Linked DNA regions of Homo sapiens: all the other regions are linked to region 3. The links are contacts of gene promoters, found by promoter capture Hi-C in blood cells and fetal thymus (Javierre and others, 2016). All regions are on one chromosome and are shown on one strand. The core of a region is centred on a gene start or on the middle of the fragment in contact, and the rest is flanking DNA. Distances in the headings are between cores, read along the strand shown. Region 1 has its middle 100 kb from the start of SEMA3D. Region 2 has its middle 110 kb from the start of LINC00972. Region 3 holds the start of SEMA3D (semaphorin 3D).

Region 1 (3,563 bases), core at 185-2,684, 100 kb after region 3:
GATTAGCAGGAAAACACAACAAAGTGCTCACATCAGTGTTCCTTAATCAGTGACTCAGAACAAACACGTTGGCCATCAGATTAACAGACTTTTCCACAGGCAGATCCAGTAAATACAGAAGACTGAAACGATCCAAAGATAAACTATAAAACTAAAAATTGCTGTATGTGGCCTCCAGTTATTTTATTCTCTATGCTCGCTAGACTATTTACCAGGATTTTTTTTCTTATTAAGGGAAGAGTAAGCAATACATCTCTGAAACATGTGTCAGTAGTTTAAAAATGTGCAAAGCAAGGCAAAGGTGTGATTCCACTTCCACAGCGAAAAAGCATGCATTTCAAACTTATGAAAAAAATTTCAGCCATGTATGAAACTTGTCACCCAGACATTGATTCGTTCCTTCTTATTCCTCATATATGCATGCATAACATCATCAAGATTTTTTAATGATAGACGTATACCTTATGATTGTTTTCATAATGTATTCTGCAAAACATGTTTTTTACTCTCATATGATTCCTCAAGCAACAGTACAAATAGGGATACTAGGAAATCTTAACATAACACAGATTGCTGCCAAATTGTCAGCTGTTGCTGGATGAATGGTGAGACTGAGACACATTTTTACCGCCTCGGGCTAACCGTTTTAGATGACACATCTGTATACAGTTGTCCAGTTAATACTAGTATAAGTCTTCACTGTTGTCATAAATAATATAACTAAGAAAACTAGAGGTGCAGTGATGCCTTTCCTCTGGAATGTAATGTGAGGATTATAACCAGGATAGTTACCCTGTTGATCAGTCACAACCCTAAGCTCGTCCCTGGGGACTGCTGAAAGCATTTCCAATTCTTCATGTCTTAAGTATGTAATCATATCCTAGAGACTTCAGTTACATACTGATAACAATTGCTTCTTTTCTAGAAGGCAAACCACACCAACCATAGAAGAGGAGAATTAAAACTTCTATCCATAAATTTCACATGCAAACACATGACAATGATTGTATTGAAGGTTGTCATCTGCTGTCATTGTCAGTAGTCTCATCAAGGGACAACTGCTAGTCTTGCACTCCAGAGGCCTTTTAACTTTTAAATTTGTGATTTCACACTTGAGACAAATCTGCTGTCATTTAAAAAGACAAATGCAAATTCTAAAGAATTAATTTCCCTGTAAATACAAATGAAGAGGTGTCCTTAGCCTCATTATTTTGTAGACTTTTAAAGAGGATCTCCTACGATTACTGGAAAATTGCAAGTAAACGTGATGGTAGAATACATAAAAATTCCAATTTTTTTGAAATATAAGTTAAATGAGAAACAAATAGTCTTATAAATTATATTTTCTAGTACCTTTGCAAATGCCACTGTATGACATTTTCATTCATGTACATTTCTTATAAAATAAAATTGAAAGCCTAGCCCTCATAGAAAATTGGAGTGAAAACTTCCAGTCTATTATCAGAAAAAATAATTAGTTAAGGAGTTTAGGTAATTGTGATTTGATTCTGGATGATTTCTATAATTGTATCAAGTTATTTTTTTTAACTCAAAATGTATGTTGAACTAGTTTCTATAAAACATCAGCTGTTCTTGGTAAAATAATTCATAATAAAGACAAATTACCATATTTTTCAGTGACGTGCCCGTAACTCTGCAAACTAATTTAAAATGTATTTAATACTGGTAGGAACCAAACAAAATAGCATAATTTATGAGTTTCTGATTTTTATATTAAAAAGTTTATTTAATTTATTGTATCATTATTGTTATATGTGAACATGACTTTTAGAGATTTTAGGCTCATTTTTAAACTTAGGAATAAAGAAGGCTATATAATAGCCATATTTTGAAAATGCAGAGATTAGGAATTCTAATCTCATCCCTTCTTTGAAAAAGTCTATTTTTTAGTCTTTACCTCAGTTTTTACATCAGTACTATATATAAGGCATTAATAATTTAACTTGGTATTTTTTAGCATATTCACTTACCTGATTTACAGACATTTTAAATACAGAATTTCTTTATAATAACCTACTCATTCTTTATGAACGAATAACCAATGTAAAATAAAAACAGATCCATTAGGAACAATTCTTATTTGAACTATCATGCTACATAAATCCAGTAATAAACAGCCCTTAGAAAGGCTAAGTAGGGACTGAAACTCTACTTCCAGATGGGCAGACATTTATTTCTGTTGATTCCTCACTTTTTCCGGGCAGTTCCTTTTACCTATCACTCCTCTTATCAATGTCACCGGACCTACTTCTTGATTTTTTACTTTGCTCTAAGCCTGGTGGAAGAGGAGTACTTTTGTAGCCAATATGGAAATAGCATCCTCAAGTACACGTCACTGTCTTTGTATTAAGTGTATCCTCAGCCCCTAGCCTCTCCCTCACTGTCCATCCTCCAGCTTTTCTCAGCTTTTCATATCCAGATCTCTAACTACTGCCCCTTTGGGGGAAATGTCCATGTTAACTGCAGTTGGTTTTCCACATATGTGCAGATGAAAGTCCTTTAGCATTTTGTGTACAAGACAAACAGCACCAATGTGTAACCTTCTATTTTCTTTTATTCCTAGAAGGCTTACAGGAAAATAAAGTTGGGAAGGCAGGAGGGCAGGCAAAGTTTTACGTTTATTTCTTTACTTTTAGTTGTTATTTACTCTGAGAGAACAAATTCTTTTTTGTTTGCTTCAAACATCAAAGTGCAAGAGAGTAAGCAAAAGTGTGTTTGAATTCTTTGTTAGAGCAGGGAAGTACATATTTTTTTTTTTTTTTTTTTTTTGCACGTGGGTGATGAGCTATAGAGAAAGGGGATTCCTGTGGTTCATAAAAAGGAATAAAAGAGTCATTAGCATTCTGGTAAGCACTGCTGTCTCCCGGGTACATGAGATAAAGGGCAGATAGGCATTAAAATACAAGAATGAATCAGCTACCTCCGTTTCTTCCCCATCTGTGTGTCCCACATCAACCTGTTATGTGACTACTGAAGCTTTCTATTCTTCAAATACCCAAAAGTCATTCTTTTTCCTGAGCATTGGCTACCAGCACCTCAATACGTCTCCTAGGCTTGCCTGGCTGGAGCTCCCATGCAAAGGATTTGAGGACCTTGATTAGTGGTTTTTAGTGGGGCTCTTCTATGTTCTGTTGCTCAGAAATGGAGGTGGTGGGAATGAGTTCCAGGTTCAGTCATAATCAGTGGTTCATGTGTTCTCATTTTCCAAATAGGTATTCAGTTTCTGATAGGAAAAGTGGTAGAAAAGAAGGTCAATGAATGGAATTTGCTTACAACAGCAGGCAGGATATGTACTAAGTTAAATAGCTTATTTCAGGCTGAACGTCTAGACCATTCACTACCTGTAAGTTCGTTTTATGACAGCTTAAAATTTCTGATATAAAGACCTTTAAAACCTAAATATCTTGTTCATTCATGCTTCATTTACCTAGAAAATACACAGTTTTTCCATGTACTTTATTCGTCATCTGACATAAAATTTTCCAAGTGGTAGAAAAAATACATTTTAATTAATTCACTCATTAATGTGTTTCATAAACATT
Region 2 (3,757 bases), core at 110-2,609, 120 kb after region 3:
GGATTACAGGCGTGAGCCACCGCGCTCGGCCTTGTTTACCATCTTAAGCACAGTGCCTTTGACAGTGCCTGGCTCACAGTAAGCGTTCCTAAATATGTTATTTGTATTTTCAGTGGCTTCAAGATACAACCCAGCTTAATAAACTATTCAACTTGTTTTTAATAAGCTAGAATAATAAATGAAAAATCTTGAGCAGCTTCAGATAAGAATAATCTTAAAATAAAGTTGGAAGTGGGGAAGATAATTAACAATTACTAAAAATTTACTTTGTGTTAAATATCATCTTAGAAATATCCTCCCCTTACTTAGTATGCTCATTTTTTTTTACCATAAAAGAGTTAATATAACCTCATTACACTTCTCTAAACTTAATATGCTCATTTTTTACCATAAAAGAGTTAATAAAACCTCATTACACTTCTCTAAACTTAGAGAAGTGATGTGCTCAAAGAAATGCCAGGATTTAAACATTCTAGGTTTTCTAATTCTAAATGTATATTTCTTTTTACTATAATTCAAACTATGCTGGCATTAGAGTTATATTTGCACTGAATGTTAAAAATTTATTTCAATTTGTTCTCCACTTAATATTAATTTATACTGAAATTGGTAGTTTACACAGTATTTTGCTATAGAGTAGTTTATTTGGTCTTAATGATTAGTTGTGGCAGACACTGTTGATGTCCCACCTAAAACTACTTGGACATCACAGTTCTTGAAAGTTTCACTGTAGGATCTGTAGCTCTATCCCTGAGGGTTTTCTTTGGCTACCAGAACCACGTAATCGGTATATATAGGACAGGGCAGAAGAGGCAGGATGGTAATGTCCCTGGAAATAGCTCTCAAGCAGTAACTAATAGGAATTAGTAGATAACTAGTCCAGTTTCCTATCTGTGAGCAATACAGCAGCTCTGCACATGTTCTACAGGGTTTCCTAGAGTTCCTCAACTGCCCACAGCAGTCATCTGCTCCATAATACAGCCTTTATTGACTCATTCCCTTTCCTTTCTCACCTCCTATTCCAAACCAGTGCTTCCTGGGATTATCTCTGAAATTAGCTTTCATTTAAATGCTTACCTCTAGTTTAGAATACAACCTCCCCTACAAATGAGGAGAGACGAGGTAAGGTTAAGAGATTATTTATCCTTACTCATTAATGGGGAATCAACTATCAAGTTTAACCTGTGTTTTTTGTCTCTACATGCATCTTACTTTCTGTGGCAATTTTCCAGTTTATTTTCTGGGCCTTCCTAGTATGGGTGGGGGTGGTGGAGATCGGCTCTCTGTTACTGCAGCTGTGTAATAGCTTCTTCCTCTATTCCACATGCACAAAAGCAGAGAGGCCAAATCAGTGGTGTTGGTCTCAGCTTGGGACAAATGTACATTCCATGTGGACTTTATGTTCCACTTGAATTAAAGCAGTTTGGTTACAGATAATATCAGTTTGGGGATTTTAAATTTAGACTTTAAACAAAGCAGAATTTTTCTGATTAGCATGCTAAAACTATACTCACTTGTAATAAACAATTACTAAGGGTAAAATATACAAATTGTGAATTGTATTTTAAGCAAAATATCTCACTCATTCAAAAGCACATTGTGGGTCTAAAGGGATTAGGTTTATGCCAGTCATTGTTTTGTCTCCATTTTTGCTCCATGGCCCTCTGTTTGCAATGGCTGCAGTTCCCTCTTTCTGTCTGCACTAACAGAAGACACCTTTTGACTCTCCCCTCACGTAACGCAATATCAACTTCACAATCATGATTATTCCTAGACATGATGCTTTGGTTTTGCTGCTTCTTTTCAAAGTTTTAGTCTTCTACCTGTGTGTGTGTGTGTGTGTGTGTGTGTGTGTGTGTGTGTGTGTGTGTGCTCCCTCAATTTATCTCACCTGCTCTTTGGGCTTTTTTATATTCTTTATACTCCACGAAGTGGGTTACCTTGGCCTGCTGCTTCCTCTACTGAACATCCAATTGAATCATGTGATCCCTCTCTCAAAACATCACCAACATCCAAAATCAGGCTGTACTCATGATTTTAATTTTTTAATTTTTTATTTATTTATTTATTTTTATTTTTTATTTTATGAGTGGAGTCTTGCTCTGTTGCACAGGCTGGAGTGCAGTGCTGCGATCTTGGCTCACTGCAACCTCGGCCCCCTGGGTTCACGTGATTCTCCTGCCTCAGCCTCCCAAGTAGCTGGGATTACAGGCACCTGCCACCACAACTGGCTTATTTATTTATTTATTTATTTATTTATTTATTTATTTATTTATTGAGATGGAGTCCCCCTCTGTCGCCCAGGCTGGAGTGCAGTGGTGCAATCTCAGCTCACTGCAAGCTCCACCTCCCGGGTTCACGCCATTCTCCTGCCTCAGCCTCCCGAGTAGCTGAGACTACAGGCACTCGCCACCACGCTGGCTAATTTTTTGTATTTTTAGTTGAGACAGGGTTTTGCCATGTTGGCCAGGCTGGTCTTGAACTTTTGACCTAAGCCTCTCAAAGTGCTGGGATTACAGGCATGAGCCACCGTGCCCAGCCAACTTTTCAATTTTTCATGTTTAATTTTTGTGTACACTCTCTCTCTCTCTCTCTATATATATATGGTGCATGAGATGTTTTGATACATGCATGCAATGCATAAAAAACACATCTTGGGAAAGGGGGTCTCCATCCTCTCAGGCATTTATCCTTTGTGTTAATTTGAAGGGTTTTTTGTTTGTTTGTTTCTGTCTCTAATTTGTTTATTCCAGTATCCAGCTTGCTCTCTAATCATATCCCTCAGGATTCATGTTGATCATTGTACTTATCATTAGTTGACATTAAATTGTTTATTCACCAATTTATTTATTTTTTCTTTCCTCCTGTATGTGAATCTAAGTTCCAAGAGAGCAGGAATGAGATGAGATGTTTTGTTTATTGTTTTCGATTATATCCTGAGGTCTTGGCACATGTTCTGCCTCAAAGTAAATACTTGAATATTATTTGAACAAAAATGCCTCTTGCTTGGGAAAAATTAAATAAAATTTTAATTTTAACATTTAAATATTAATATTAATATATTTAATTTTAATATTAAAAATCTTCTTCTTAGAAAATATTACCCTTTGTATTTGAGCATTAAAATACTGACTTCCTAGGCTGAGGTGGCAGATCTCTTGAGCTCAGGAGTTTGAGACCAGCCTGGGCAACATACTGAAACCCTGTCTCTACAAAAAATACAAAAGTTAGCAAGCATGGTGTCGCATGCCTGTAGTCCCAACTACTTGGGAGGCTGAGGAGGGAGGATCACTTGAGCCCCAGAAGCAGAGGTTGCAGTGAGCCATGATTGCTCCATTGCACTCCAGCACAGAGTTGGAGTGCTCTACACAGAGTGAGACTCTGTCTTAAAAACAACAAAAACAAAACAAAAAGAAAAATGAATTAAAAAAAAGAAAGCCAGTGACTAAGAGGACAAAGCAAGATCTGATCAATTGCAGCTCACTATAGATAACTGTTAAAATTTACTTTTTATAATGTGAAATTATTTTTGCAAAGAATGAACAGAAAAGATTCTTATTTTACAAGGTGATTCCCTGGTTTTACCAAGAAGACAAGGGTTTATGAAAGCATTCCACAGAAACAGAGCTATGTTTTTTTTTTCCGATGCACATTTATCTGCAGTTAATATAACTAATAAATTGAACAAGCGTAATCTTGCATATGTTATTATAAAGCAGTGTATTTTTTATAAGTATTTGAACATTGCTCAGTGGCT
Region 3 (3,976 bases), core at 527-3,026:
CCTCTACCTCCGCCTCAACCCTTCCCTCTCTGTTAGGAGATCCTCCCCCTCGTCTCTGCGCGCCCCCACCCCGCCATCCCCCGCTAGCGCACACATGCAGGAGAACCCTTTTTAGGCTAAACCGGAAAGTTTAGGTCTTCTCCCCTCTTCTTTTGCTTGTGCAAATAGCACTAAGCTAAACGGAAAGTGGTGGGGTTTTGGTGATGAAATAAGAGTCCACGCACAGAAGCTTGCCTTTTATTACCGCTTCGCTCGAGGCGAAATCGCTGAAAGTTCGGCTATTTAACTCCTGTCCCCATAACTCGGAATCCCGGACACCAGCGGCCCCAGCTGCTGGCGCGCGGCTCTCTTCCAGTCCCCTGGATCCCAAAGCTCCCTGCCACAGCGCGGCGTCTCCTCCTCCTGTCAACTTCCCTCCTTGCACTGTGACGGAGGCAAAGCAACTCAGCCCAGGAGGTTGAACTCGAGTCATCAGAGAAGGAGAAACAGTGCCGAAAACGGCCCGTGCGCTACCAGGGTAGCCCATTAACGCATTAACTCCAGGCTCGTTGGGCAGAAGCCGGGAGGAAACACCCTGGGGACCGCACTCCTGGTTAAATGCCCAGCACGAGTCAAATCCGGCCTTTCCAAAGCGAGCCAAGCCCACTACTACAAAGAGATCCCCCGAGTGTTTTGCCTTAACCACATTTCAGACAGCCAGCTTTGTGGCTGCTGTTTGACTCCAACTTTCCCTCTAAATCTAAAAGGATGCACACTTCCATCAGACGGAACGTCGCGATTCCCCGGCGAAGAAAAAGGCGTCGCCCATTCCTCTTCCAAAACGCTACAACAAAAACCACCACGCTTCCCTTCCTTCTTCCTTGCCCCTTTCCCTTCTCCCAGACCAACAAGGAAAGGAGCGAGCGAGGGCGCAGATGCCCTTTGGTCAAGTACTCCCCGGATGTTCCCGACTAAAGCGTCTCCAAATGAACCTGCAGCCTGCGGAAGCCGGGGACACATTCATAGACGCTCTCTGCTGCCCAGACCAGGAGGGGTGGTGGGGGAACCAGGAAGCCAGGGAGAGAGCAAAGTTCCTGGACGCGTCTCAGGAGGAAAACTTTGTGCAGTGCTGCCAGGCGGAGGCTCGTCAGAAGGCTCCGCAGCTGCTGAGGCGGGGTGGGACTGCGCCCCAGGGGCCGCGCTGAAGCTGGCGCCGCGATTACTGCGCACCGATTTCGCCCACTCTCTGTCCGCTCCCGGGAGCCTTCTCTGTCTCAGGACGGTTCCTTATCTCCCAAACCATGCTCGTCCTCCACTTCGGACCCACAGCCACCCCCAAATCCCGGCTATCCCCGCTTAGCACCGCGGTCTCCAGCACACCCTCCCACTGGAGTAGCAGGTGACCCAAACCAGACTTACCTGCTGTGAACTCTTCTCTCCCTCTCTCTTTTCCTGGTGCCTTTTCAGGGAGAGGGGAACGGGATGCAGGCTGAGGTCCAGCGGCGCGGCAACCCGGGGCACCGGCGCGCGTTCCTCTGAGCCGCAGCCCTGGCTGAGCAAGCGGAGCCGCCGGCAGCCCTGGCAGAGCCGGGAAGCTGCGGCCGCAGGGGCCAGGCCGGGAGGCAGGGGGCGCTGCTGCCTCCCCCGAGAGCCGCGCTAGGACAGGCGGAGAGCAAGGCACCAGCTGGAGCTTTGGGGAGGAGAGGGTGGCGAGGAAAGGCACGCTCCAAACAGGAGGGCGGCTTTTAAGTTTGTGGTGTGACCGCAGCAGCTGTCCTGGGAGAGACTCAGTCTTTCTAAAAAGAGGATGCTGAAAACGCCGGGGATTACCTTTCCCCTTCCGATCTCCTCCCCCAGCCCTCGCCCCCTCCTTCCACTGCGCACGCCAGAACTCCCAAGCGTGCAGAAGTTCATCCCTGCTGCGCGGAGGCTGCCAGCAGCGTGGATTTAGAGGTAGCCCTGGCCAAGCGCTGACGGATGTTTATCAGGACAGGGCACCCTATGTGTAAAGCAACCTCTAACGTCTGATCTTCCTTCTGGGTGACTTGGGGACTTCTTTAGTTCCTTCTCTATACCATAAAACCTGTTAAGGGACCCCATGAGGAAGAAACAGGGAGAGTGACCACAAACACCGTCCTAAAAATGCTAATCCCACAAAACAGTACCTGCGTTCCACTATGTAAAACCTCAATCCACGGTTAATGGCCTTGACAAGGCAGGCATAGGGATGAGGAACAGGGATCAACCCTCCGTTAAGGGGCTGGCACCCGATTAAGACCAAACAGGGAGAGATAAAAACGAGTAGAATGTAATCCTTTCTTCCTCTTTCCCTTACGCCAGACCTACAAAGAGGTGTGCCTCATATCCTTGTCTTCGGGAGTTTTTTAGATTTTTGCACCCCTTATTCACACAGTAGGAACTTAGAAGTATATAATGACGAGAAGATCTAAGTTTTGATGAACCTGGATCCTATGCAATTGGAATAGAGGATCCTCTTTAAGCAAAAGTAATGCAGAAATATCTCACTTCTACAGATTCTGCAAAAATATATGACAATGAGAGTTCATGAGGCCACCGTCAGGGACATTAAAAAGGCCTGTGCATTTGGTGAGCCCTGTACGTTAGGCATTTTTAGCTGCATGGTAAATCCTTTGTGATGGGATATCCAGGTTTATAGTCACACACCTTGCCCTTAGTCCCAAACATAAATCTGACATGAGGTAGAGACATGGAAAGCAAGCAGCCACGGGATCCTGCATTTGTCAGCTTGATTTAAGAGCACAAGGTGTAGGGTCCCAAAGCTTCCTTAGCAAGTAACAAGAGATATCTTGATTTGGAGATGGTGAACAGACAAATGCAGTAATGGAATAACTGAAAGGGGTGGAAGACATTCTTCATTTGACCTTTTATCTGTGGCAGAGGGCTGAGGGCCACAGAAGCTAAAGGAGTCATTTTAAGTTATAAATGGTTGATGGCAGAGTCAGGCTAAGGAAAGGCTCAGGTTTCTCAAATCTGACCAAGGCTCTTTCTTGTGTCTCATGCTGCCCCATCTCTATAACCTTGGTTTGGACTCACAACCAATCAACCCCATAAATACCCTCTTTGGATAGAGAAAAAAATTTTAAATCCTCGTAGACTATTTCAAACTATAGCAACTTTTATTTTTTTTCTGAATGCTTTATATTTAATGTTATACCACTCATTCTGTACATAGTCATGCAATTGTTTATTGTATGTTTCTATGTGTTTATATTATTTTCATTTGTATATGTCATTGCACTTCCATGCAAATTGCAATGTCATTGTGCAAATAAAATATCTCTTTTTTTCTCCCGTATATGGTGGGTTTATAGTAAGTAGTTTTTGATTTTTAGAAAATCTCTATTTTTAAACTTTTAAATAATTTTGTCAGTTTATTGGCCAGAATTTTGTGTTTAACTAGAATTGTGGTTAACTTTGGATTTCCCATTTTCCTCCTTTCTCTTTTAAGTTGTAGCTTAATATGCTTAAACCAAATGACACCTTCCTTTGCTACCATTCAATACTTTCCATAAAGCCCTTACAGAATTAATCACTCCCTCCTGTTTTCCCAAAGCACTTTGATTTCACTACTATAATAAGCTCTTTTCACTTTATATTATAATTAGTTATGCATGTGTCTGCATCCCATACAAAAGTGTTGGCTGTTTTGTGTCTTTGTTTCTTCAGCCTCTAATACAATGCCTGTGACATTGTATTGTACTGATTTAGTTTGAGATGCTCAGACTTCAAATTTAGACAGAATTTACCAGAGTATCCTGAACATATCATGAGAAAACAACATCTGGAACGTGAATTCTGTGCTTTCCTTCCTTTTAATGACTCTGAGCACAAAGCAGATGGAATCAACTGTTAATATGTTGCCCAATGTGATGAATGGCCTCAGCTGTGTCCATGGCTCCGTAATCTTCAGGCTGCTTCCCTGAATGTCTTGAATGTGTTAGGTGCTTAACAAATA

The links. Contacts are between HindIII fragments. The CHiCAGO score rates a contact against its expected background, and 5 or more counts as called.
Region 1: a contact is called between a fragment that was not itself captured here and the fragment with the promoter of SEMA3D in region 3, in 1 of 17 cell types (total B cells). The highest score is 6.1, in total B cells.
Region 2: a contact is called between a fragment that was not itself captured here and the fragment with the promoter of SEMA3D in region 3, in 2 of 17 cell types (total B cells and naive B cells). The highest score is 6.3, in total B cells.

The regions. Positions count from the first base shown.
Region 1 is chr7:85,286,599-85,290,161 of GRCh38, forward strand. No RefSeq gene overlaps it. Among named protein-coding and RNA genes, the nearest start is that of SEMA3D, 100 kb to the left of the region's middle. The HindIII fragment of the contact is 3,122 bases long and covers 1-2,995 here.
Region 2 is chr7:85,307,458-85,311,214 of GRCh38, forward strand. No RefSeq gene overlaps it. Among named protein-coding and RNA genes, the nearest start is that of LINC00972, 110 kb to the right of the region's middle. The HindIII fragment of the contact is 6,360 bases long and covers 1-3,757 here.
Region 3 is chr7:85,185,280-85,189,255 of GRCh38, forward strand. It overlaps SEMA3D (semaphorin 3D), which reads right to left and starts at 1,777. Exons shown (of 19, transcript NM_001384900.1): 1 at 1,399-1,777. RefSeq lists a silencer at 1,589-1,648. The HindIII fragment of the contact is 2,551 bases long and covers 228-2,778 here.